5 separate regions of the Homo sapiens genome follow, and regions 1, 2, 4 and 5 are each linked to region 3. Evidence: promoter capture Hi-C in 16 types of primary human blood cells and fetal thymus (Javierre and others, 2016). All regions are on one chromosome and are shown on one strand. Each heading gives the region's core, a stretch centred on a gene start or on the middle of the fragment in contact. The rest is flanking DNA. Distances are from core to core; before and after follow the strand shown. Region 1 has its middle 13 kb from the start of MIR130AHG. Region 2 overlaps CLP1 (cleavage factor polyribonucleotide kinase subunit 1). Region 3 holds the start of RTN4RL2 (reticulon 4 receptor like 2). Region 4 overlaps ZDHHC5 (zDHHC palmitoyltransferase 5). Region 5 has its middle 7.5 kb from the start of SERPING1.

Evidence for each region. Contacts are between HindIII fragments. The CHiCAGO score rates a contact against its expected background, and 5 or more counts as called.
Region 1: a contact is called between a fragment that was not itself captured here and the fragment with the promoter of RTN4RL2 in region 3, in 2 of 17 cell types (neutrophils and monocytes). The highest score is 7.4, in neutrophils.
Region 2: a fragment that was not itself captured here is called in contact with the fragment with the promoter of RTN4RL2 in region 3 in 6 of 17 cell types (neutrophils, M0 macrophages, M1 macrophages and 3 more); the score reaches 7.6 in neutrophils.
Region 4: a contact is called between a fragment that was not itself captured here and the fragment with the promoter of RTN4RL2 in region 3, in 3 of 17 cell types (neutrophils, M0 macrophages and activated CD4 T cells). The highest score is 6.7, in neutrophils.
Region 5: a contact is called between a fragment that was not itself captured here and the fragment with the promoter of RTN4RL2 in region 3, in 1 of 17 cell types (neutrophils). The highest score is 5.8, in neutrophils.

What each region holds. Positions count from the first base shown.
Region 1 is chr11:57,622,199-57,627,850 of GRCh38, reverse strand. No RefSeq gene overlaps it. Among named protein-coding and RNA genes, the nearest start is that of MIR130AHG, 13 kb to the left of the region's middle. The HindIII fragment of the contact is 8,519 bases long and covers 1-5,652 here.
Region 2 is chr11:57,661,840-57,666,686 of GRCh38, reverse strand. CLP1 (cleavage factor polyribonucleotide kinase subunit 1) reads right to left here. Exons shown (of 3, transcript NM_006831.3): 3 at 4,822-4,847. Among named protein-coding and RNA genes, the nearest start is that of ZDHHC5, 3.9 kb to the left of the region's middle. RefSeq lists a silencer at 3,677-3,746. The HindIII fragment of the contact is 2,607 bases long and covers 1,099-3,705 here.
Region 3 is chr11:57,459,108-57,463,999 of GRCh38, reverse strand. RTN4RL2 (reticulon 4 receptor like 2) reads right to left here and starts at 3,472. Exons shown (of 3, transcript NM_178570.3): 1 at 3,104-3,472. The coding sequence starts at 3,134. RefSeq lists enhancers at 1-132, 1,222-1,760 and silencers at 3,196-3,465, 4,565-4,624. The HindIII fragment of the contact is 14,932 bases long and covers 1-4,892 here.
Region 4 is chr11:57,699,890-57,705,560 of GRCh38, reverse strand. It overlaps ZDHHC5 (zDHHC palmitoyltransferase 5), which reads right to left. Exons shown (of 12, transcript NM_015457.3): 12 at 4,379-5,671. The coding sequence ends at 5,530. MED19 (mediator complex subunit 19) reads left to right here. Exons shown (of 5, transcript NM_001317078.4): 2 at 332-588; 3 at 746-842; 4 at 1,165-1,259; 5 at 1,455-1,851. The coding sequence ends at 1,523. Among named protein-coding and RNA genes, the nearest start is that of MED19, 9.5 kb to the left of the region's middle. RefSeq lists an enhancer at 227-1,426. The HindIII fragment of the contact is 1,747 bases long and covers 2,260-4,006 here.
Region 5 is chr11:57,587,646-57,592,665 of GRCh38, reverse strand. No RefSeq gene overlaps it. Among named protein-coding and RNA genes, the nearest start is that of SERPING1, 7.5 kb to the left of the region's middle. The HindIII fragment of the contact is 5,530 bases long and covers 1-5,020 here.

The sequences.
Region 1 (5,652 bases), core at 780-3,279, 170 kb before region 3:
CCGAGTCTTATGTAGTTCTTTATGGCAATGTGAGAATGGACTAATACAGGTATACATCTCAAGGGGATCGTGAACCCTCTGGAGTTCATTCACATACCACTGCCCCCAACACACGCTCTAATCTCCTCCAGGTCAGAACTTCTTCAAGAGGATACATTCCAAACTTCTTAGCATGGAACTCAAGGCCTTCCAAACTTATTCCGAGTTGCCTGTCTAGCTGCACCTACCACCTGTGCTGTTATGATTATTTTGTGTCTAATTCCTCATCAGACCAAGATGCTCCCTGAGAGCAGAGATTGTGCCCTTTCATTTTTCCTTTTTACATTTCCCCAGATCAAATGAAAGTTTCTCAGGAGGAGTAATCTGAACCCTTGGCCTAGCTAGAAAAATCGTTGATTGACTGCTAGACATGACTAATTTCCAGCCAGCCAGAGGGTTTTAGGGTCATGAGCCTAGTGAATATAACTACAATGTTCTATTCTCCAAATATATTTGGGGAGAGCTTTGATTCAAAATTTTCAGTTTTAGCGGATCCCATAAATATGGAGACTTCTGAGACCTTGTGCCATGATTTTAGTTTAGAAAATGTAGGTCCTCAGTGGTGAACTTACCACATTTGCCAGTTAATTAGTGCCAGGGATCTCTTTTTGGTAGCTACAGCTCTTTGGACCCTGGAGAAACTGAAAGAACTAGTCTGGTTTGTGGATTCTTAGGAGAATTTACTGATTTCATAATGTAGCCCTGACCTAATCCCAAACCCCAAGATAAGCCAGGGCAGGACTGTCTCCCACATTACTCCAAAGTGGACATTCTAAGGAAATCTTAGGCAAGAGAAAATCAGTCTTCCACGGCCACATTTCAAAATTTTCCCCACATTTCAATTGTTTTCCCACATCCCCTACACACACTGGGACACTTCATATCACATGGAGAGAAGTGAAGGGAGACATTACCAGTCCATTAAAGTTCAGAGAACAAGAGCTCTGTCTTGTTGAACAGTTTGTCCGCTGCCACAACAGTGCCTAGCACAAGTAAGTACTCAATTAAAACTTGAATAAATGAATGGGAAAATGGCAGAAGTCCTGACCTCAGAGGATCCACCCGCCTTGGCCTCCCAAAGTGCTGGGATTACAGGTGTGAGCCACCACACCTGGCCTCTTAAAAAAAAAAAATAGGACTTTAGGAGGCTGAGGCGTGCGGATCATAAGGTTAGGAGTTCGAGACCAGCCTGGCCAATATGGTGAAACCCCGTCTCTACTAAAAATACGAAAATTAGCTGGGCGTGGTGGTGGGCGCCTGTAGTCCCAGCTATTCGGGAGGCTGAGGCAAGAGAATTGCTTGAATCCAGGAGGCGGAGGTTGCAGTGAGCCGAGATCGCAACACTGCACTCCAACCTGGGCGACAGAGCAAGATTCCATCTCAAAAAAAAAAAAATTAAAATAGCTGGGCATGGTGGTGCGGGCCTGTGGTCCCAGCTACTCAGGAAGCTGAGGTGGGACCTGAGCTTGAGCCCAGGACCTCAAGGCTGCAGTGATCTATGATTGAGGCAGGAGAATAGGGCCTGGAGGCAGAGAACCTAAGGACTTTCTAGAACTAAATCAAATGGAAACACTTCAGCTGTGACAGGAAATATCCTCTTGTTTACATAGGGTGTACACAGAGTAAATGACTTTGTAACTTTCCTTCATCCTCTTCATTTACATAAGGCGTACACCAAGTAACCAATGGAAACCTCGGCTCACTGCAACCTTGGCCTCCCAGGTTCTAGCGATTCTCCTGCTTCAGCCTCTTGAGTAGCTGGGATTACAGGTGTGCACCACCACACCTGACTAATATTTGTATTTTTAGTAGGGATGGGCTTTCTCCATGTTGGCCAGGCTGGTCTTGAACACATGACCTCAGGTGATCCACCCGCCTTGGCCTCCCAAAGTTCTGGGATTACAGGCGTGAGCCACCGCACCTGGCCAGTAGATAATATGTATAAATTAGTGGAAAGCAAGAAGGCCTCTAGGACGATAACAAAGTATAGATTCTCTTTAGACGGCCTATTTGAGTAGATAAGGCAATTCACAGGGCTGTGGCCTTGTTTAATCCTAGAACAATTCCAGACTCCAGGTGCTTACTTACTTAAAGGGTAAGAATCATCTTCACCCCTTCTGACTAAAGCCATGGAGTCCTGATCCCAAGAATCAAAGACACGGGGCAGCAGGGAGGAGGAAAGAACATCCAAACACAGAGGTATAATTCCTCTAGTTGAAAGATAATTTGTAAGGCAAAACCCTAGCTGATAATGACTATGAGAAGCTATGCTTTGGTATTCCTAGCTCCACCAGTCTCCAGAGGAGATACATAAAATAAGAATAACATTAATGTCATCATTGTAAAATAAAAAACTTTGCTTGGCCATGTGCGGTGGCTCACACTTGTAATCCCAGCACTTTGGGAGGCTGAGGCGGGTGGATCATCTGAGGTCAGGAGTTTGAGAGCAGCCTGGCCAACGTAGTGAAACCCCATCTCTACTAAAAATACAAAAAATTAGCCGGGCATGGTGGCAGGTGCCTGTAATCCCAGCTACTTGGGAGGCAGAGGCAGGAGAATTGCTTGAACCCAGGAGGCGGAGCTTGCAGTGAGCCAAGATTGTGCCAACTCCAGCCTGGGCAACAAGTGCAAAACTTTGTCTCTAAACAAAACGAAACAAAACAAAACAAAACTTTGCTCAAATATAGACACTGCACACTTTGAATCAAAAGTGTTTGCTGACCATTTATAGGCATAGGTGGGACCAGAGATGTCCTGAATCAGATTCACAAGGAGTTTCCTAGTGGTTGGAGGGGAAAGCCAAATATTTGTGTACATGCTACTGATTTTACATGGCAGTGTAAGTTCAGCACTATGTCTAAAGATGGAGGAGGTGCTATTGGCTGGGAAAAGCAGAAAACACTGTTGGAGAATTGCACTGGGCTTAGAAGAATGGCAGCATTTAAATGAACAGGATCTGTAGAGACCAGGCTGGTGGCTCATGCCTGTAATCCCAGCACTTTGGGAGGCCAAGGCGGGCAGATCACTTGAGGTCAGGAGTTCGAGACCAGCCTGGCCAACGTGGTGAAACCCTGTCTCTACTAAAAATGCAAAAATTAGTCGGGCGTGGTGGCGTGTGCCTCTAATCCCAGCTACTTGGGAGGCTGAGGCAAGAGAATCACTTGAACCCAGGAGGCCAGAGGTTGCAGTGAGCTAAGATCGTGCCACTGCACTCCAGTCTGGGCAACAGAGCGAAACTCTGTCTCAATAAATAAATAAATAAATAAATAAATAAATAAATAGGATCTGGAAATGCATTTTTGTTCTGTTTTGTTTTGCTTCATTTTATTTTAGCTAATATGTACTGAGTGTCAACTCTGTAGGTTCCAGGCTCCATGCTCAGAACAGAGGATAATGACAAAAAGATACGGTCCCTGCCTCCTAGGAGATTTTAAAAATTATTTCAGCAAGAGGGCAAGTGTTCTAGTGAGGTTCACTCTGGGCCCCAGAGGAATCGCCAGGAAACTCAGTTCTGATGAAGCAGAGCTAGATGGCCAGGGACTGGGGCTCCAGGCCTGACAGTCTGGCTGTAGCAGCAGAGTAGGAATCGGCTCTGATGCTGCTCCCTGAAGCCAGCCGGCAGACAGGCTCACTGTGACCATGACCACACCATCGTGGTCCATGGACAGGAACCATCCTCACCCTGGTGGTCCTGTTGCCATGCATTTTCTGCTAAGCCCCTAACCCATAGCCCTTGGGAATGGTATTTGGTCTACTATATTAGTCTACTCTGGGACTAATATAGACTTTGGTTCTTTTTATTTATTTATTTTTTGAGACAGGGTCTCACTCTGTTGCCCAGGCTGGAGTGCAGTGATGTGATCTCGGCTCACTGCAATCTCCACCTCCCAGGACTCAGGTGATCTTCCCACCTCAGCCTCCTGAGTACCTGGGACCACAGAGTAGCTGTGTGCACGACCACACCCATCTAATTTTTGTACTTTCTGTGGAGATGGGTTTTTGCCATGTTGCCCAGGCTGGTCTCGAACTCCTGGGCTCAAGCAATCTGCCCACCTCAGCCTCCTGAAGTGCTGGGATTACAGGTGTGAGCCACCACACCTGGCCAACTTCGGCTTTTTAAAAAATTACTATTATAAGCAGACGCGTTCTGCCTTTGTTGCCCAGGCTGGAGTGCAGTACCTATTCTTAGGCACAATCCTGCTACTGATCAGCAAGAAGGTTTTGAAAGACTTTGACTTTTAAGTTGACTTAGGAGACAAGATGAGGAAGAGGTACTTGTGGGACTTCCAAGAGGAAATGCCCAGTCACAGAGCAGGCCCTTTAAACCTAAGATAGTGAATTGGGGCATCCTGGGGTAGGAGAAGGACTGGAGAAGACCCAGGGGTGGGGTATGCAATTAGCAGACCTTGGTTTGAATGTCACCTCTGCCCTTCCCAGCTGAATCATCCTGGGCAAATTTTTTCCTTCCTTCTTTCCTTCCTTCCTTCCTCCCTTCCGTCCTTCCTTCTTTCCTTTCTTCCTTCCTTCTTTCCTTCCTTCCTTCCTTCTTTCATTCCTTCCTTCCTTTCTCTCTTCCTCCCTCCCTCCCTCCCTCCCTTCCTTCCTTCCTTCCTTCCTTCCTTCCTTCCTTCCTTCCTTCCTTCCTTCTCTCTCTCTCTCTTTCTCTCTTTCTTTCTTTCTTTTTTTGAGACAAGGTCTTTCTTTGTCATCCAGGCTGGAGTGCAGTGGTATGAACACAGCTCACTGCAACCTTGACCTCCCAGGCTCAGGTGATCCTCCCAACTGAGCCTCCTGAGTAGTTGGGCCCACAAGCATGTGCCACTACACCCAGCTAATTTTTGTATTATTTTGGTAGAAACAGGGTTTTGCCATGTTGCCCAGGCTGGTCTCAAACTCCTGGGCTTGAGCGATCCTTCTGCCTCAGCCTCTCAAAATGTTGGGATTACAGGCATGAGCCACTGTCCCCAGCCCAAATTATTTCTCAGAAGCTCCTTTTCTTCATTTGCAAATCTGGCAAAACAATACCAATAATGGGATTATTGCAAAGTTTCAATGAAATACTGAAAATAAAGGCTAGAGTGGGGCACATGTAAAAGCCAACTGAAAGTGGGCTCACACATGGGTAGAGGCTATTGGGGAGCTTCACAGGAGCTCTCAGGGTGTGTAGAGAGATGAGCAGAAGGTGTCCAGCTGAGCCTGGGCATGCCTATATTTATGTTTTTGGAGAGGATTGAATATTTGGCCAAAATGCTTTTCAGATCTGCAGTCACTCAAGGAGAAATGGAATGGAATGGGGGAGGGGGCTAGGAAGCCAAGAGGCAGGCTGCATGGCCAGCCTGTCACTCCAGGATGATGGATGAGCCTATTTCAAGGCTTGTAATTAGTGATGACTAGCTTGGAGATCCTTCCCGTGAAGACGCATGTATTCCCTGCTCCTCTGTGCCCAAGAGGCCCTCCTCAGGAATTGGGGCTGGGACTGGAATATAAAGTTTGTCCCCAAACTCTGGCACAGACTTCCAGAGGATGGTGTGCATGTGCTTTTGTACACGTGCATAAATACAAGTATGTGTATATTTTTGCTGCTTCTATCAGTGTGTGCCACTACGCCCAGCT
Region 2 (4,847 bases), core at 1,153-3,652, 200 kb before region 3:
TTTACTGTGGTTCTGACACTAGCATTAGGCAGTAAGGTAAAAGAGAACTACCTTCTGTTTTCTGGAATCTAGTTCCTTCTCTGACATGGCATATATTATAAGTTCTAGTTTATTCTTGTTAACAGCGTCAATCCAGCATTTATTGCAACACACTTGAGAGTTCTTTATAACGACTTTATATTTTTAAAACAGACCTGGCCTGGCGTGGTGGTTCACACCTGTAATCCCAGCACTTTGGGAGGCCAAGGCAGGCGGATCACGAGGTCAGGTGCTCAAGACCAGCCTGGCCAACATAGTGAAACTCCCTCTACTAAAAATACAAAAATTAGTCGGGCATGGTCGGGGGAGCCTGTAATCCCAGCTACTCGGGAGGCTGAGGCAGGAGAATTGCTTCAACCCGGGAGGCAGAGGTTGCCGTGAGCCGAGACCACACAACTTCACTCCAGCCTGGGCAACAGAGCAAGACTCCGTCTCAAAACAAAACAAAAACCTCTTTAGACCATATGAAAGGTAAATTATTGAAGATACAATATTGATATTTTATTTTTTACTTTTTGAGAGGGAGTCTCACACTGTCACCCAGGCTGGAGTGCAGTGGCGCGATCTCAGCTCATGGCAACCTCCTCCCGGGTTCAAGCAATTCTCATGCCTCAGCCTCCTGAGTAGCTGGGATCACAGGCATGTGCCACCACACCTGGCTAATATTTGTATTTTTAGTAGAGATGGGGTTTCACCATGATGGCCACATTGGTCTGGAACTCCTGACCTCAAATGATCCTCCCACCTCGGCCTCCCAAAGTGCTGAGATTACCGGTGTGAGCCACAGTGCCCGGCCTGATATTGGCATTTTCTACCTGTAAGCCATGTTTCTTTAAGATGAAGTCAGCTTTCATTTTTCTGTTGCAATATTTTTCTTGGATTTTTAGACTTCCTGATTTCCTCCACAAATTAGGCATTTTTATTTTCCTTTCAGCTGTCTAAGAACTTGTAAATAGTGGTGTCTCTTGGCTAGACAGTGCTAAATGGAAAAAAAAAATCAGTCTTCCACCATCCAACCAAACTAAACTCCCCTGGGATACTAACTTGGATTGCCAAGCTTTGTTAGGTGGATGAGCACTAACAGAGGTATAATCACTATCCCAAAGTTGAAAGACAGAGATTCCACTTGTCCAGTTTTCCTTGGGATCACTCAAGATATTTCTTGGAAAGAACGTTTAATAGAACATATGGTTTAAAGTGCCAGCTACTTCTGAAAAGTATCCAGAGTAAAATCTAGGCTAAAACAGTATGATATCCAGACCACCCAAACTTTAAATTACTTTAATATGTTAATGGCTTCTCTCATCTGCGCATCTTTGTTCATCTTGCTCACCACACTCTTCGGCTGCCTGGACTTAGACCCTCAGTAGCATGGGCACCTAAGCACACAGAAAGCTAGAACATGCATTTCCCAATTTTTGTGTTTTTAGGGTTTCACCATGTTGGCCAGGGTAGTCTCCAACTGCTGAGCTCAAGTGATCTGCCTGCCTCGACCTCCCAAAGTGCTGGGATTACAGGTCTGAGCCACTGCTCCTGGTCAACCTCTTTGTGTTTAAATACTGCTCTTTCCTCCTGTCCTTGTGAAATGTCTCTGTATGTGTTAAAGGGTAGTTCTTCCCTTTGTGCTGTGGATCCTATCTCCTTCGCTCCTGCATTTTTTCTGGTGCTGGGGGATGGAGTCTTGCTCTGTTACCCAGGCTGGAGTGCAGTGACGCGATCTCAGCTCACTGCAACCTCCGCCACCCATGGACAATTAATAGCTCATATTTAACACTGCCAAAAACCTCGAGTTTCCCTTGTCCCTCAGGGGGACAACTCCCTGAGTTTTCCCAATCTCATGTCTAACCTAGTGTGTCTTGTTAAAAAAAATCCAGGATGCATCCTTGATTCCATCGTTTTCCTCACCACTCCGTTATGAAGTCCTGCCTTCAGAATATCCTCTCACCAGCTCTACCTCTGCTGCCCTAGTATTTCATCCCCCACCATTTCTCACATTTGCACTTTTACAAAACTCTCCTAATTACTGTCCTTGCTTTTACACTTGCCCTATAACCCACTCTCCACAAAGCAGTGATCTTTTCAAAATGTAAAGTAATCAGCCAGGCTAATCCCAGCACTTTGGGAGTCCGAGGCGGATGGATCACTTGAGGTCAGGAGTTCGAGACCAGCCTGGCCAACATGGCAAAACCCCATCTCTACTAAAAATACAAAAATTCGCCAGGCATGGTGGTGCATGCTACTCAGCTACTCAGGAGGCTGAGGCAGGAGAATAACTTGAACCCAGGAGGCAGAGGTTGCAGTGCACCGAGGTCATGCCACAGCACTCTAGCCTGGGCAACATAGCAAAACTCAGAAGGAGGGAAGGAAAGGGGGAGGGAAGGGGAGGAGAGAGGAGAGGAGGTGAGGGAAGGAAAGGAAAGGAAGGAATAGGAAGGAAGGGGAAGGAATGAAAAAGAGAAGAAAAAAGAGAGAAGAAAAAGAGAGCAGGAAGGAGGGAGAGAGGAAAGAGGAAAGGAAAGGAAAGGAAAAGAAAGGAAAGGAAGAAAGAAAGAGGGAAGGGAGGGAGGAGATCAGCCGGGCGTGCTGGCTTACGCCTGTAATCCCACACTTTGGGAGGCCTAGGCGGGCGGATCACCTGAAGTCGGGAGTCGGAGACAAACCTGACCAACACGGAGAAACCCCATCTATACTAAAAACACAAAATTAGCCGGGCATGGTGGCGCATGCCTGTAATCCCAGCTACTCGGGAGGCTGAGGCAGGAGACTCGCTTGAACCTGGGAGGTGGAGGTTGCACTGAGCCAGATTGCGCCATTGCACTCCAGCCTGGGCAACAAGAATGAAACTCTGTCCCCCCCCAAAAAAAAAAAGATCAAATAATTACTCTACTTAACTACCCCTCCCCTCTGGTTCCCATTGCTCTTAAGAGTAAAATCCATTCTTAAACCAGGTGCTGTGGCATGAGCCTGTAGTCCCAGCTACTCAGGAGACTAAGGTGGGCGGATCACTTAAGCCCAGAAGTTCAAAGCCAGCTTGGGCAACATAGTGAGACACGCCCCATCTCTTTTTTTTTTTTTTTTTTTTTGAGTCAGAGTTTCGCTCTTATTGCCTAGGCTGGAGTGCAGTGGCGTGATCTTGGCTCACGGCAACCTCCACCTCCCGGGTTCAAGCAATTCTCTTGCCTCAACCTCCCAAGTAACTGGGATTACAAGCATGTGCCACCACGCTCAACTAAATTTTTTTTGCATTTTTAGTAGAGATGGGGTTTCACCATGTTGGTCAGGCTGGTCTCGAACTCCTGACCCCAAGTGATCCAGCCACCTCAGCCTCCCAAAGTGCTGGGATTACAGGCATGAGCCACCACGCCCGGCTGAGATCCCTATCTCTTAAAAAGAAATAAAAAATCCTTTTCTTTTTTTGAGACAGAGTGTCCTTCTGTCACCTAGACTGGAATGCAGTGATGCAATCTCGGCTTTCTGCACCTCCACCTCTTGGGTTCAAGGGATTCTCAGACTCCTGAGTGGCTGGGGTTAAAGGCATGGCCACCACCCATGGCACCTGGGCCAAAAAATCCATTCTTCACCGTGGTTTACAAAAGCCCTACATTATCTGGTCTTTGCTGCCCCCTCCAGCCTCATCTTGTACAGTCTTTCTTGGTTCACTAAGCTTCAACCACACTGGCTTTTCTCTTCACCAAACTCATCAAGCTTGTTCCTTTATTAGGGTTTTGCAGTTTTTTCTCACCAGGAAGGTTTTGCCCCAGACTTCACACAGCCATTCAAGTCTTAGCCCAAAATGTATGCTCAGGAAGGGCCTTTCCTGACCACCCAATCTAAAGTAGCCTCCAGTCACTCTGTCTCATATCCCCCAAATTTAAGTCTCTGCATAGCACTTGCCTTTTTAAATTTGTTTATTCTATAATGTAAGCTCCATAAAACTTTTGTCTGTCTTGTTCCCCATCTACAGTGGCTCCTGACAAACAGTCAGTCCTCAGTAAACATTTATGAAAAGAAGGAATGGATGAATGGCATCAGATACTTAAGTAATCCAAGTGCAAACCAGGGACACCAAACAGTCATTTGCAAGAGATCAAAAAGAATGGGCTTTCCCAGTTTCTTACCACCTGAAAGCTTAAGTTACACTTTGACTTAGGGCCTAGTTCCAATCAAATAGACAAGGATAGCTGTACTGGAAGGAAAATGAGCTATCTCTGGAAAATGATTAGATATGAAATCTCATTCCAAGATTATCACCAGCCTCTAACTCCCCACAGTAAATCCAGCACTGACAGCAGATTTACCATCTACTTACCTAAGCGCAGAGGAAAGGTGAACTATCATAAGAACTCACAGCCGGGCACAGTGTCTCACACCTGTAATCCCAGCATTTTGGGAGGCCGAGGCAGGCAGATCATGAGGTCAGGAGTTTGAGACCAGCCTGGCCAACATAGTGAAACCCTGTCCCTACTAAAAGAAATACAAAAAATTAGCTGGGCGTGGTGGCGGGCACCTGTAACCCCAGCTATTTGGGAGGCTGAGGCAGGAGAATCACTTGAACCTGGGAGGCAGAGGTTGCAGTGAGCCAAGATCACGCCACTGCACTCCAGCCCAGGTGACAGTGTGAGACTCTTACAAAAACAACCACCACCACCACCAAAAAAAAAAACCTGACGTGGCTCACAGGTAGGTTTCTTGGTTTTCCCCTCCTCCAAGCATTTTAGCAATAAATCATTCCAATTATGTTTCTATAACGCTTAGGGGAAAAAAATAAATTATACCAACTTCTATGATATGGCAAAAATATTTATTAA
Region 3 (4,892 bases), core at 2,223-4,722:
GTAACCCAAGGAGCTCATCCATAATTCACGCAGCGGCTCTCACTGGAGGCAAGGAGGAGGGGAGGGGAGGGGGCTCTGGGCTTCACTGCCCCAGGCCTGCTGGGGCTGGAGCGAGCACTCCAGGGCAGAGGTGGTGGGACTGGGGGGTTGGGGGACTAGAGAGCTGTGCCTTTCCCTCTCTCCCCCGCCCTCAGTCCCTGCCCTGCCCAGTGTGTGCCCTTTTCTTTCTTGCCACGTCCCTTCCCCACCCCCTGTTCTCACTCCTCCTCAGCACCACCACTCCTTCCCTCCAGGCCCAGGCCTCCTGTCTCTCCCGAGGACCACGGCTCCACTCCTGGCCTTCATTTTGTGAATTCCCGGTGGAGACTGGGGCAAGATGCACAGAGTATCAGAGCTGGAAAGGGGGATACCTCGGTGGCCACCTAGAGCCGACCCCTCACATCATAGGTAACACCATTGAGGGCTGGGGAGGGGAAGTGTGAGTTTCTGAGCACCCCAGGCCTCCTGACCAGGTCTCTACAGCTCGCCTTCATTGTCTTTCTCAGAAGCCTTCATTTCATCCCTCCACTACTTCATGGACAGAGGAAAGCCCTTTGTAGCAGCCTCCCCCACCCTCTCTGCTCACCCCCTCCTCTAAAGTCAGCAGGGGATGGCTAGAGCTGCAGGGGAGAGTACAGCAGGGTAGGAGGAAACCAAGAAGCACCTATTTTGTCCTAGGCACTGCATTTGTACAGGTTAACTTCTTTATACATTGAACACAACACACATAATCCCCTGGAGGTCAATATTGTGGCCCCCAATTTGCAGATGAAGGAAGGGAGCCCCAGAAACATGACACAGTGGCCTCAGGTCATGCAGCTAGTACAAGGTGGAACCCAGATTGGAAAAGAGGGACATCAAGCCCATGTCAGAGAGACACTCTGATCTTTCTTTAAGAGGTGGCCACATCCTCCGCAGAAACCACGCCTGAATGTGTGAGACACTGCCCTTGAGGTAAAGACAGGAGAGAAATTGCACCCAGGTGCCTAGGGCTGGGCCAGCCACAATGCTGAGTCTGTTTGGCTATTCAGGGTCAAGGCAAGGAAGGGACTCCAGCTCTCTCTGCAACTTTCACCTCCTAGGCTTCCAGTTGCGGTTGTTCTAGAGTAGTGATTACATGTGGGAGTCAAGAAGAGATGACCCCTGTCCAGAATATATGGCCAGAACTGACCAGGGGAGGGAGCCAAGAGAGGCCAGAACATGGTATTGATCCCGGAAGGCTGAAGTGTCCAGAGCCAAAAGTATCTGTTCACTGAGGGACCACTGTCCAGGACTCTGGCTATCAAACCTTGGAGTACCAAGGCTCAGAAACAAAGTTCTCAGCCCACAGGCCACTCTTTGGGCCGGAGGCCCCTGTAGAAGAAGGAACTTGAGGAGAAGAAAACTGGACCCAAAGTAGGGGGCAGGATCCAGGCTACCCACCCACAGGGCAGAGTCGCTGGTGCAGAGTGGTCCCAGGAAAGGATGCTCCCTGGAAAGGCAGCAGAGGCCTCTCGCTCTGGAAGGAGGGGCACAGGGTCCCAGACGAGAAGCAAGGGCTCCACACCCAACGGGCTGCTTCAGGGAAGGGCTGGGGCCTGCGGGCAGATGCTGAGGGGGCAGGGGCTGAGGAGGTGGGAGCTGAGGAGTGGGATGGAGGTGGTGGTGATGCCAGTGACGCAGGGGCCTGGGGAGGCACTGACGCGGGTGACGGAGGTTTAGAGCTGCTGCAAACAGCTTCTCACTCTGCCAGAATGTAACACCCCAAAATAAGCAGCCACCGTGGTGGCGGCAGCGGCTGCAGAATCCAACGTCCAGGCCGGATAAATAAATGGCAGCACAGGAGCCAGCCTGTTTGCCCACCCTCGGAGGCTGTCACTCCCCTTCCAAAGTCCTCACCCTCTGTCCCTCACAGCCACCCCCAGGGCCCTGAGCTCAAAGCACCCCCCATCTGGCCCACCAGCCACTCCCTGAGAGAAGAAATGTGGCAGGCAGGCGCTTTGGGAATGGAGGGCTTCCCACGTGGAAGTGGTTACCAGAAGCCTCTTTGTCTCATCCCTGGGCAGCACCCCCAATCCCCAGTCCCTCTCTCTCAGCCTTTCTCTTCCTCCTCCTCTTCCCTCCTCTCCAGCCCCTCTCCCATCCATGGTTCCCTGTCTCCAACCCTCTTCGCCGGTTCCTGATACCCCTTCTCTAGTCACCATCCCCATCCTTCTCTGGTTTCTGATCTTTCCATTCTCCTTTTCCATTCCAGTCCCCAGGGTCCCAGTCCTGATTCTCTTTCCCGCTACCTCCATCCCAGGATTCTGGGTCCCTGTCCATAGTCTTCTTCCCATCCCTCCCCTGATCTGGTCTTTCCTCTCCTTCCCTCTTCCTTGGTCTTCACCTGGGTCCCACTTCCCTCCACGCTTTTCCCATCTAACCTTTATTCCTTCTCCCCCTCCCCCGCTCCATCTCCCTCCTCCTTTGAGCTTCCCTCACCACTTTCTCCATCTTTGAGTTCTCCTTCCTATCCCTCTCCCCCTGACCCCTCCCCACCCCACCCCCAGTCTCTGGCCCACACCCTTATCTGTCACTCAATCAGTAGAACTATCCTCTTTCTAGCGCCCTCCATCTCTCCTACCAGAGAGGGCCACTTGGATTTCCCTCTGCGCCTCCTACCTCCCCAGACAGCCCCCTACCCACATCTCCTGTCTTCCCAGGTGGCCAGAAAGTGCTGAGGCACCGGGCAGGAGGAGTTGCTGAGTCGGCGCTTCCCCAGCCGGCCCGAGTCCTCAGCGTCCCCCGGAGCAGGTGGAGCGGGGACAGCGGAACCTGAGCCTCCCTCCCCGCTCCGGGCCGGGTCCACCTGCCCCCTGCGTCCCACCTCGGTCACGAGCTCCTCGCACGCGCCCGCGGGCTCCCAGCCAAGTGCCCTCCTGCTGAGAACAGCCCTGGCGGCGGGGGCGCGGCCCCAGCGCTGAGCTTTTCCCCTTCCCCAGGTTACCCCACCTCCCCAACTGCCCCACCCTCAATCCCTGAAAGAGGGGACGCCCTGCTTCTCTCCCCAGGATGCCCTCCGCTCTCCCGCCGCTGGCGTTCTTACCTTGCAGCAGGCGCCTGAGCCCGGGCAGCATCTTGTCTCGATGCTCGGGGGAGGGGGCAGCGGGGGGAGGGCGCTCCCACTCGCTCCCTGAGCCCGCCGGATGCACGGCGGGGACCCCGCGGGGCTCCGGGAGGGCCCGGGAGTCCCCGGGCTGCGTGGCCGGGCCGCGGCGCTCTACCCTGCGCCGCCCGGGCTGCGGGCCTCGGGAGGAGCCATCGGCCCCGACGGGACGGGGCGGGGCGCGACGGGGCGGGGAAGGCTGGGGCTGGCCGTCGACGCCCAGCGCCCGCGCCCCGCTAGCTGCGCTGTCCGCTCGAGAGTCCGTCAGTCCGTCTGTCCGTGTGCCCAGGCTGCTAGCCGAGGGAGAGTGGGGACAGCGAGGAAGCTCTTCCCAACCACCCCCACTCCTTCCCGCACTCGCTGGCTCCTCCCTCGTTTGCTGGCTTGCCGACTTAACCCTTTCTCGACCACTAGGAGGCGGGAGCGGCTTTCTAACCCCCTCCACCCCGCCCCCCTCCCCCCCGCTTAAGCGACCCGGAGGACTGTGTTCGATCGTCCTCGCGGCGCCACTCTTCTAGAGAAATCCCTTCTTGGGGGAATGCGGTAGTTTAGAGGAACGCCGTGGACTTGTCCTGTTCCCCCCTCCCAACTTTCCAGGAGAAGATGAGCTTCTGGGTCACCCCCTCCCCCGCCCCCAGCCGCGTCCCTCGCGCCAGTGTCCCAGCCTCCAGCATTTCTGTCCCCTGGGACAGCTCCAAGATTCCACTTTTCCTTCCACTCCCAGACCTCAAGCCCAGTGTGCGACTATAAGAATAGTATATGCAAGAGTTTGTGCGTGCAAGATCGAGTGCATATGAGCGTGCACGTGCGCGCAAGGATGCTTGTGCAGGTGTGACTCAGGATGCTTGCCCGTTACCCTTTGTACGGGCTTGGGGAAGCGGGGGGGGGGGCACGTGAGTGTGCACACGGGTGAGCCGCTGAAAGTCCGCCAGCGTGCATGTCTGAGCTGGTGGGAAACGTGAGGCTGTGCGAGGTTTTGCGCTTGCGATCTTGGGGATGGGTGGAAAGAAATATGTGCCCGGTGTGTGTATGCCCCTTAGTGCATTTACAAGCGGGTGCGAGATGGGCGCGCGTGCGAGTGTGTGCGTTTTTTTGTGTATGTATGATGTGTCCGGGAGGGGAGACCTTATCTCCCGCGGGGGTGCAGGAGAGGACCCAAAGCTGGGGAGAAGACTGTTGGCTTCGCGTGAACTTCCTCTACCCCCTTTTAAAGAGGGGCGGATTATGGTCTCACTGGAGCCCCTCTGGCCCTTCATGGCCTGGTCACAGGCGGTATCAGCAGACCCATCACCTAGGCACTTCCCTACAAAGGCTGCAGGGCGGTTGACCCAGGTCTTGACTCGGCCCGGCGCGTCCGCGGAGCCGCCCCGGCGTAGGATAGGCTCGGGGCCCTCGGGGGAGCCGCTTCGGGTACGGTGGCCAGGCAGCGCTGGCGGGGTTGGGGCTGCTGGAGCCTCAGGTGCGGCGGTGCCGGGGCTGCTGAGCCCCCTGGGCTGCCGCTCCCGCGAGCACAGAAGCCCCTCGCCCCGCTGCCCGCGCCGCGGCTCCTCCTTTCCTATCCGTGCCAGGGTCCAATGCAGTGCCTGGCATACAGTCGGCTCTTGATAAATGTTGGTCTTATTCTTCCCATTCATTCTCTGCTCCCTCCACGGTCTCTCGTTCTTCTCGCGTTCTCATTCGATTTCTCTGGTTTTCTCCCCCGACTCTTACTCATATTTCGTGGTCTCTG
Region 4 (5,671 bases), core at 1,884-4,383, 240 kb before region 3:
TGCCCCAGCCTCCTGAGTAGTTGGGACTACAGGCACGTGCTACCACGCCTGGCTAATTTTTTGTATTTTTACTAGAGACGGAGTTTCACCGTGTTGTTAGCCAGGATGGTCTCGATCTCCTGACCTGGTGATCCACCCGCCTCAGCCTCCCAAAGTTCTGGGATTACAGGCATGAGCCACTGCATCCGGCCTGCTCTGTTTCTTTAAAAATAAATTTTAAATTTTAAAATCTGCACTTAAAAAATGTCTTATTTAGGTTAATATATAGTCCTTCACTCCCTGGGTCTACTTTGAAGACTGATCTTTTTTATTTTTATTCTGCGTTGTCTAGGTAGCACAGAGCTGACAGGCAGCACGAATCTGATCACACACTACAACTTGGAACAAGCCTATAATAAATTCTGTGGGAAGAAGGTGAAGGAGAAGCTAAGTAACTTCCTGCCTGACCTGCCAGGGATGATTGATCTGCCTGGTTCCCATGATAACAGCAGCCTCCGCTCTCTCATTGAGAAGCCCCCTATTCTCAGTAGCTCTTTCAATCCTATCACAGGGACCATGCTGGCCGGCTTCCGCCTCCACACTGGCCCGGTGAGTCCTGTTGGAGGAAGAAGGCAAATGGGGAGGCCTAAACATGGAGATGGTTTTTCTCTCCAAGTCTGTTCCTTCATAATGGAGCAGAATGGATGATAAGAGCAGGAGAGATTTCCTCCCTCTACTCACCTGGACCTTCCTTTGGTTCCTTCAGTTGCCGGAGCAGTGTCGTCTGATGCATATTCAGCCTCCCAAGAAGAAGAATAAGCACAAGCACAAACAGAGCCGTACCCAGGATCCTGTCCCCCCAGGTAAGAAGCAGTTCTATTCAAAGCAAAAAAAAAAAAAAAAAAAAAAAAACCTGACCTTCTGAATCTGGTTTGAACTTCCATAGGTAAACCCAGTTAAGTTCCGTATGGAGCTCTGGACTCCTAAATTCCCCTGAAGAAGAAACCAATGTACTGTGGTCTCTTGGGACTTGGGACAGGGACTCTAGCAGCACCTCTGTATCCTTTCTGGCCATTTGGACAAAAGCAGTTGCCCCGACTTGGGATTTTCCTGTAGTCTTCAGTGGTTCATAACAGTAGAGGATTTTGAGCTTTACAGGTGATAGGTACCTAATGTCTCCTACAGAAACACCATCTGATTCAGATCACAAGAAGAAGAAAAAGAAAAAAGAAGAGGATCCTGAACGGAAAAGGAAGAAGAAAGAGAAGAAGAAAAAGAAGGTAGAGTAGAGGCCTATTGCCACAACCCAGTGAGTTTCCCCAGATCTCACCCCTGTCCTAAATACCCTAGAGTTCTTTGCCTCAAGTTGGACCCAAGATTGAAAACCCAAGGCAGGTTGCAGGTTTCTCCTGTACAGCCTGATCAAAGCCAAGGCTAGTTCCTAGTTGTTCTTACCCTGCTTCTTTCTCCCCCAGAATCGACATAGTCCAGACCACCCAGGTATGGGCAGCTCCCAGGCCAGCAGCAGCAGCAGCCTACGCTAATAGGACCACTGGACTCTTTGCCAGGATGGCTTTTCCTGCTGTACTGAACCTGCTGATAAAAGCTGCCTTCCAGGCTCTTGGACACTGCCTTGGGAGCATCCTGCAGCTGGGACAGAGGCCAGCTCCTGTTGGGCTCAGTTGAGACTAAGTAAATTAGGAGAGAGAGGGACATGCTTTTGTAGGCTCATCCCAGTTGGTTTTCTCATGGACATCTCTTCCTCTCCCAGGAAGCTTACAATTTTCTTCTCTCTCTTTTGTGCAATTTGTCTGATTTAGGACTTGTTCTGTGTTTTCTTTAAAAAAAAAAAAATTACATTTATCAAACTGGCTGAAGTGTGACTGCCTGTTAAGAGGTATGTGCCTTTCTGTGAATCAGGATTTAAGACAAGGCATTCCTAAGACTTGAGGGGATTTGGGTCTTGTCATTACATGATCTCACTAGCAGGCAGGGAACCAACCAAAATGAAAAGTGACCCAAGCTTACTAATACTCCACAGCAGACACGTAACACTCTGCCCATTATGTTGAGAACCAAGCGCCTCGGTGATCTCAGGCTCCATCTGAAGAGCTGATCCAGGTAGGGCTCAACAGTGTATTCTAGGTCAATTTTGTGTCGAAAGAGAATAGCCAACTGAAAACACATGGACAGTCACCCATGTGTTTCAACAAGATTGGTTCTTTAGGTCAGAAGCCTGTGATCTTTTGAGATGAACTTCTGGCAAGCAAAGGTAAAGCTTCCCTTCTCTTTACAAGAACTTTTGACCTGCTTCGGTCCTTAGTTAAGACAATAAAGTTATTTAGCTGATGTGAAAACATTTCTAAAACAGCAACAAAATGTAGCCTAAACCATCAAAATGTGAAAAACAAAAACAAAAAACACTTTTAGTTTTTCCAGCTGGTTAGGTAACTGAAAACATCCATGAGAAAACCTGAATTAATGTAATCTGACTTTAAATTTAACACAGTTAAAATCTGTTGCCGTGAAAGCCAAGGTTGTTCCTGAATCAGTGGGTGGAAAACCACTCATTCAGCTGGTTTAAATCCAGGATTTCAGAATAAGAGTTTGCTGGGTTTTTTTTTTTTTTTTTTTTTTTTTGAGACAGAGTCTTGCTCTGTTGCCCAGGAGTGCAGTGGCATGATCTCGGCTCACGGCAACCTCTGCCTCCTGGGTTCAAGTGATTCTTGTACCTCAGCCTCCCAAGTAGCTGGGACTACAAGTGTGCGTCACCACACCTGGCTAATTTTTGTATATATATATATATATTTTTTTTTTTTTTTTTTTTTTAAATTTTGGAGAAAGAGTCTTGCTCTGTCGCCCATGTTGGAGTGTAGTAGTGCAATCTCAGCTCACTGCAACCTGCACCTCCTGGGTTCAGGTGATTCTCCCACCTCAGCTTCCCAAATAGCCAGGATTACAGGCACCCATAACCAACGCCCAGCTAATTTTTGCATTTTTAGTACAGACGGGGTTTCACCATTTTGGCCAAGCTGGTCTTGAACTCCTGACCTCAGGTGATCCACCTGCCTTAGCCTCCCAAGGTGCTGGGATTACAGGTGTGAGCTACTGCACCCAAATAAGAGTATATATATATATATATATTTTTTTTTTTTTTTTTTTTTTTTTTTTTCCTGAGACGGAGTCTTGCTCTGTCACCCAGGCTGGAGTGCAGTGGCGTGATCTCGGCTCACTGCAAGCTCCGCCTCCCAGGTTCACGCCGTTCTCCTGCCTCAGCCTCCCAAGTAGCTGGGACTACAGGCGCCCGCACCACGCCAGGCTAGTTTTTTGTTATTTTTAGTAGAGATGGGGTTTCACTGTGTTAGCCAGGATGGTCTCGATCTCCTGACATTGTGATCAGCCCGCTTCGGCCTCCCAAAGTGCTGGGACTACAGGCGTGAGCCACCACGCCCGGCTAAGAGCTTATATTCTTAAATTTTGAGTAATTAAAGGGCTCTGGTCAACTGCTTGAGATTTAGTGTCTAAGGATACCTATTTAAAATTAGAGCACAGCTTTTGTCCAATAAAATGCAATATATCTAATTGAACTGACACCGATATCTAGTTAACCTGCCTTCAACAGGCTTTCATACCTGTTACTATGTCACCTTTGGCTGTTTCCAAAATTAGCTTTACTTTCCAGAGACTAAATCCTGTATTAAAAAACAACTGTAGCTGGGCATGGTGGCTCATGCCTGTAATCCCAATGCTTTGGGAGGCCAAGGCAGGATTGCTCAAGGCCAGAAGTTCGAGATCAGTCTGGGCAAAATTGGTTGAGAGTCTATCTCTACCAAAAAAAAAAAAATTAGCTAAGCATGGTGGCATGCAACTGTAAGTCCTAGCTTCACAGAAGGCTGAGGTGGGAAGATCCCTTGAGCCCAGGAATTTGAGGATATAGTGATCTGATTGTGCCACTGCCCTCCAGCCTGGGCAACCAGAATGAGGCCCTGTCTCTTGAAAGAAACAACTTTTAAGAGTTCTCTAAGCTTTCAAATAACAAGCAGTTTTGGTGATTTCAAGAGACCTTTTTTCAGGAATTTTTGAATTAAATCACCCAAATAAAAACAGGACCTGTTGTTTTTAGAAATGGAGTCTCTATGTTGCCCAGGTTGGTCTGGAACTCCTGGGCTCAAGTGATCCTCTTGCCTCAGCCTCCCTCAGTGCTGGGATTACAGGTATAAGCCACCGCACTGGGTCTCTTTTTTATTTTTTTAGTTGTTAAGTGGCTAATTTCATTATAGTCTTGCCTAAAGATGGGCTGGGACCAGAGAAGTTTATGAGGTTGTCACTGATAACTTCCCACCAGAGATCGTTCACCCTGTCTCAACCAGACAAAATAACACAAGTCAGGGGGCGCTGGTTAGATCAGGATTTCTTTTTATTCCTCGTTGGTTTAAAATGGCTAATCAGAATAAAAAATAAAAGGGCCTCTTTGTGGAGGCTGGGATCTCCCCTATTTAGAGGTTAGAACCCAGGTATCCCCTCTACCCAGCACCATAGTGAGGTGGGCTGAGGGGTAACCCCCAAGGGACAATCGGAGGGGCCTAGGCCTGCCACTCCTTCTCTCTATCCCCCGTTTTTGGCATGTGATGAAAAATATTGCTTTTTGGATTCTTCTCTCCTGGCCTTGGATTTTAAAATCAAGTTAACTGTGTAAGCTAGGGGAGGCTCCAAGGGGCCAGTAGGAGCACACTCTAATCCCTCTCCCCCAAGGAGGGGATTATCCAATATTGTTTGAGCTAGGCCAAGTTATTTTCCTGATCTCCCACCACCACCAGTGTCTTGAAGTTTTGACCCCTTTCCTAGGGAAACTAAATGCCAATGAGCCTAGAAAACTAATTCTCCTCTCCAAGTCCTTCCCTCTTGTGACCAAAATTCCAGACTCACCTCTCCCCAGGCTTCTTCCTAATCACACTTAGCACCAGCAGAGGATGCTATTTCCGTAGTTAGTAACTGGGACAAATGAGAGGGAACCACAGGAAAAAGACTGACGTCTCCCCTCTTTTCCTGCTGGTCTGAGGAATGGGAAGAGTAAGATCCCCCTCCGTATATGTATCCCTCCCTCATTTTCCCATCCCAGGATAGATATATAATTTCTTTGATATTTATAATATATATATATATATATTATATGTACACACACACCTGGTAACGCAGAAGAGGAAAAAAATAGAATCCGTAACAATAATAAAAAAAATTATTTCTGGTTTAAAAATGATCTGGTTCCCTCCAGGGCGAGCAATTGCACAAATGTCCACTGAGTCTGGTCCAGGGATCAAGGAAGGGAAGGTCTTAAAAGATAAAAGGGGGGGTTGCTACCCCAGTCTCAGGGCCCCAACTCTCCGACTCCCCAAGCCTACTGCATTTTAGAAAACACTCCTCATCCTCTTGGAATCGGTGGTTTAAAAAATGTCCATGCACGGGAGGGGAGCCCCTTGAGGGAAGGAAGGTGGCCACCTGGGGCCCTTTGGTGTAGGCGCAGAGGCGTTGGGGAGGGGAGGTGCCGAAGGCTCACACCGAAATCTCATAGGTGGTACCACCAACCCCTGACACCTTCTTGACTCCTCCCCTCGTGGGGCTACTGAGAGGTGGCTGGCCTGGGCCAGGGGAGGCTGAGCCTAAGCTCTTGGGCTGCCCGTTGGATTTGCTGTAG
Region 5 (5,020 bases), core at 1,435-3,934, 130 kb before region 3:
TAAAATTATTCTTTTCCTGGGTGCAGTGGCTCATGCCTGTAATCCCAGCACTTTGGGAGGCTGAGACAGGGGGATTGTTTGAGCCCAGGAGTTTGAGAGCAGCCTGGACAACATGGTAAAACCCCGTTTCCACAAAAAATAAAAAAAATTAGCCAGGCTTGGTGGCTCATGCCTGCAGTCCCAGCTACTCAAGAGGCTGAGGTGGGAGGATTGCTTGAGCCTAGGAGTTCGAGGCTGGAGTGAGCCGTGATCACACCACTGCACTCCAGCCTGGGCGACAGAACAAGACCCTGTCTAAAAAAAAATTAAATGATTCTTTCAAAGTTATTGCTACAAAGTCATATACGTGCTTTGTAAAACTTTTCTGGCTGGGCGTGGTGGCTCACGCCTGTAATCCCAGCACTTTGGGAGACCCAAGTGGATGGATCACCTGAGGTCAGGAGTTCAAGACCAGCCTGGCCAACATGGTGAAACCCCGTCTCTACCAAAAATACAAAAATTAGGTGGACATGGTGGCACATGCCTGTAATCCCAACTACTCGGGAGGCTGAGGCAGGAGAATCGCTTGAACCCAGGAGGTGGAGTTTGCAGTGAGCCGAGATCGTGCCATTGCACTCCAGCCTGGGCAACAAGAGCAAAACTCTGTCTAACAAAACAAAACAAAACAAAACAAAACGTTTCTAACAATTCAGACACTTACAAAATTAAAAGTTACCACAGACAAAACTGCTGTTAATAATTCTGAGTGTATGCTTTTATATTTGCCTATTTATAAAATCATATCTACTTCATCTCTCCCCACACACATAATTATTACTCTTCCATAATTTCTTTTCTTTTTTTTGAGACGGGAGTCTTGCTCTGTCACCCAGGCTGGAGTGCAGTGGCCCTATCTCGGCTCACTGCAAGCGCTGTCTCCAGGGTTCACGCCATTCTCCTGCCTCAGCCTCCCGAGTAGCTGGGACTGCAGTCGCCCGCCACCACTCCCGGCTAATTTCTTTTGTGTTTTTAGTAGAGAGGGGGTTTCACCGTGTTAGCCAGGATGGGTCTCGATCTCCTGACCTCGTGATCCACCCGCCTCGGCCTCCAAAAGTGCTGGGATTACAGGCATGAGCCACTGTGCCTGGCCTAATTTCTTTTCTTAATAAAGTAGCATGGGCATTGTTCCATGTCACTGCAGGCAGCTCTATCTCATTCTTTCTTACAGCCGCACGGTATTCCATTGTATGGATGTATTACAAACTATTTCTTTGATCTCACCCTGAGAGAGACATTTGGATTGATTCCCAAACCAATCCCCTTAACTACATGCCGGTTCCAGAAGTTTCCCTCTCACTTACTATCTTTTCCACTTCTTGCACAGCAGCGTACCTGCTTTCTCTGCTACCTTTCTATTTCTAGCCTTTGTTTCCAATTCTCCGTTGCCAGCTCTGTAGATGGAAGCGCTAGGTTTGGACTGTTGACTCAGCTGTGAATTTGGCTCCATTCAGATTGTGGCCCCTTGCTTTGACCTGCTGTTTCTGCTTCCATGCACCTCTCCTGAGGGTAAAAATGCCTGCTCCACTTCCAGAAAAGCCAAAATTCACCTTGCGTTCCTCAATGCCTGTTGAGAAACAGGGAGCCACCCTCCTTGTTCTGCCCAACTTGAACATGAAGCCCCATGGTCACTTCTCCAGTTACAGACTTTTCTTTTCTTTTCTTTTCTTTTTTTTGGAGACAGAGTCTTGCTCTGTTGCCCAGGCTGGAGTGCAGTGGCATGATCTCGGCTCACTGCAAGCTCCGCCTCCCAGGTTCACGCCATTCTCCTGCCTCAGCCTCACAAGTAGCTGGGACTACAGGTGTCTGCCACCACGCCCAGCTAATTTTTTTTTTTTTTTGTATATTTAGTAGAGATGGGGTTTCACGTGTTAGCAGAGATAGAAACCCTGTCTCTACTAAAAATACAAAATTAGCTGGGTGTGGTGGTGCATGCCTGTAATCCCAGCTACTTGAGAGGCTGAGGCGGGAGAATTACTTGAACCAGGGAGGTAGAGGTTGAGCCTGGGCAACAAGAGCAAAACTCTGTCTCAAAAACAACAACAACAAAAAATTGTGACGGCACCATGTTTAAGTTCTGATATTCAGTAGACCAAGTCCTCACATTTTATTCTTCTTCAAGAAGATCTCTGCTATTCTTGATCCCTGAATTTCCATATATACTTAGAATCAGCTTACCAGGCTCCACAAAATAAAAGGGAAAAATATGTTGGGATTTTGACTGGTATTACCTTACATCTATAGATCATTTTGGGAGTGAATTGACATCTTTATAACAGTAAGTCTTCTAATCCATGAACATGTTATAGCTTTCCAACTATTTGGCTCTTCCTTAATGTTTCTCTGCTGGGATTACAGGTGGGAGCCACCACGCCTGGCCTGTTTCTCAATATACTTGTTGATATGTTTAGGCTTTGTGTCCCCACCCAAATCTCATCTTGAATTGTAATCCTCATAAACCCCATGTGTCAAAGGAGAGACCAAGTGGAAGCAATTGAATCATGGGGGCAGTTTCCCACATGCTGTTCTCTTGATAGTGAGTGAGTTCTCACGAGATCTGATGGTTTTATAAGGGGCTCTTCCCTCTTTGCTCAGCACTTCTTCCTGCCACCTTGTGAAGAGGGTTTCTTGCTTCCCCTTCACCTTCTGCCATGATTGTAAGTCTCCTGAGGCCTCCCCAGCCATGCACAACTGTGAGTCAACTAAACCTCTTTCCTTTCGAAATTACCCAGTCTTGAGCAGTTCTTTATAGCAGTGTGAAAACAGACTAATACAGTTATATAGTTTGCTCTGAAGACGTATTCCACCTATTTCTGTTTATTTCCAGGATCTTGATTTTTTTTTTCTGCTATTGAACACAGTGCATGTTTTAGTTCAATCTATGTCATTAAAAAATCATTTTTGTGGCAGGGCACGGTGGCTCATGCCTGTAATCCCAGACCTTTGGGAGGCTGAGGCAGGCAGATCACGAGGTCAGGAGTTTGAGACTAGCCTGGCCAACATGGTGAAACCCTGTTTCTACTAAAAATACAAAAATTAGCCAGACATGGTGGTGTGTGCCTGTAATCCCAGCTACTCAGGAGGCTGAGGAAGGAGAATTGCTTGAACCTGGGAGGCAGAGGTTGCAGTGAGCTGAGATCATGCCACTGCACTCCAGCCTGGGCAACAGAGCAAGACTCTGTCTCGAAAAAAGAAACAATAATTTCTGGGCCTCATTTTCTCTCTCCTTTATGTAACAAGGCCTAGTTTTATCACTGGCCTAAAAGTCTTAGATTTTGTATTTACTTTTCAGTTCCAGGTTCCTTGAACTTGATTGGGTTTAGGTCTTTAATCTTGGGTCCTAATTTGAGCCCTTTATCTCCACCTCAGGTCACTATAGGAGGTGGTAGAAGTTGAAATAGCCTCTCACCCAGAGGGATTAGAGGAGCTTGATCTTTCCCTACATCCAGCCCATCATCAGACCTTTTGGTAGTATCTTCAAAATGTATCCTGAATCCACTCAGTTCTCTCAATCATTGAGGCCATGAACCCAATCTAGCCACAACCATCTCTCACCTGGGCCACTGAATAGCCTCCTGCCTGGTTTCCATGCTTCCACTCTGTCCTTTCCAGATATTCTTCAATCCACAGACAGAATGATAATAACTAATATAATATAATATAATACATGATAATCAATATAAATTGGTTTTCCATGGGAGACCTTTTTTTTTTTTTTTTTGAGACAGGGTCTCGCTCAATTGCCCAGGCTGGAGTGCGGTGGCACAATCTCAGCTCACTGCAACTTCTGCCTCCTGGGTTCAAGCGATTCTCATGCCTCAGCCTCCCAAGTAGCTGGGATTACAGGTGCCCACCACCATGCCAGGATAATTTTTTATTTTTTATTTTTATTTTTTAGTTGAGACGGGGTTGGCCAGGCTGGTCTCACACTCCTGACTTCAGGTGATCCACTCACCTCAGCCTCCCAAACTGCTGGGATTACAGGCGAGCTACCGCACCCAGCCAGGAGACCACTCTTATAAGAAGTCACTTATGAGCCTTTCTCTTCACTCTTGTAATAAAATCTAAACTTTTGACCCTGGCCTACAAGACTAGGTCCAAGCTGACCTCTGCCTCCCTGTCCAACCTCTGCTTGTATTACACAACTCCTCTTATTACATCTAGTGCCTGGCCTTCTGAAAGTTTCTAGAATATCTGTATTAGTCCATTCTCACATTGCTATAAAGAACTACCTGAGACTGGGTAATTTATAAAGAAAAGAGGTTTAACTGACTCACAGTTCCACAGGCTGTACAGGAGGCATTGACTGGGGAGGCCTCAAAAAACTTACAGTCATGGCAGAAGGGCAAAGGGGAGGCAATTGTGTCTCCACATTGCAGCAGGAGAGAGAGCAAGTGAAAGGGGAAGTACTACACACTTTTAAACCATCAGATCTCATAAGAACTCACTCACTATCATGAGAACAGCAAGGGGGAAATCTGCCTCCGTGATCCAATCACCTCTCACCAGGTCCTTCCCCCAACACTGGGGATTATATTCAACAGGAGATTTGGGTGGAGACACAGAGTCAAAGCATATGATTCTGCCCCGACCCCTCCCAAATCTCATGTCCTTCTCATAGTTCAAAATACAACCATGTCTTCCCAGTGGTTCCCCAAAGTCTTAACTCATTCTGGCATTAACTCAAATGTCCAAGTCCTCTGCAGGGGTTGAGAGAATTCAAATAAAAAACAAAACAAAACAAAAAAGTCTAAGTCCAAAGTCTCATCTGAGACAAGGCAAGTCCCTTCCACCTATGAGCCTGTAAAATCAAAAACAAGTTAGTTACTTCCAAGGTACAATGGGGGTACAGGCATTGTGTAAATGCTTCCATTCCAAATGAGAGAAATTGGCCAAAACAAAGAGGCTACAGGCCCCATGCACATCCAAAATCCAGCAGGCAGTTATTAAATCTTAAAGCTCCAAAATAATCTCCTTTGACAAC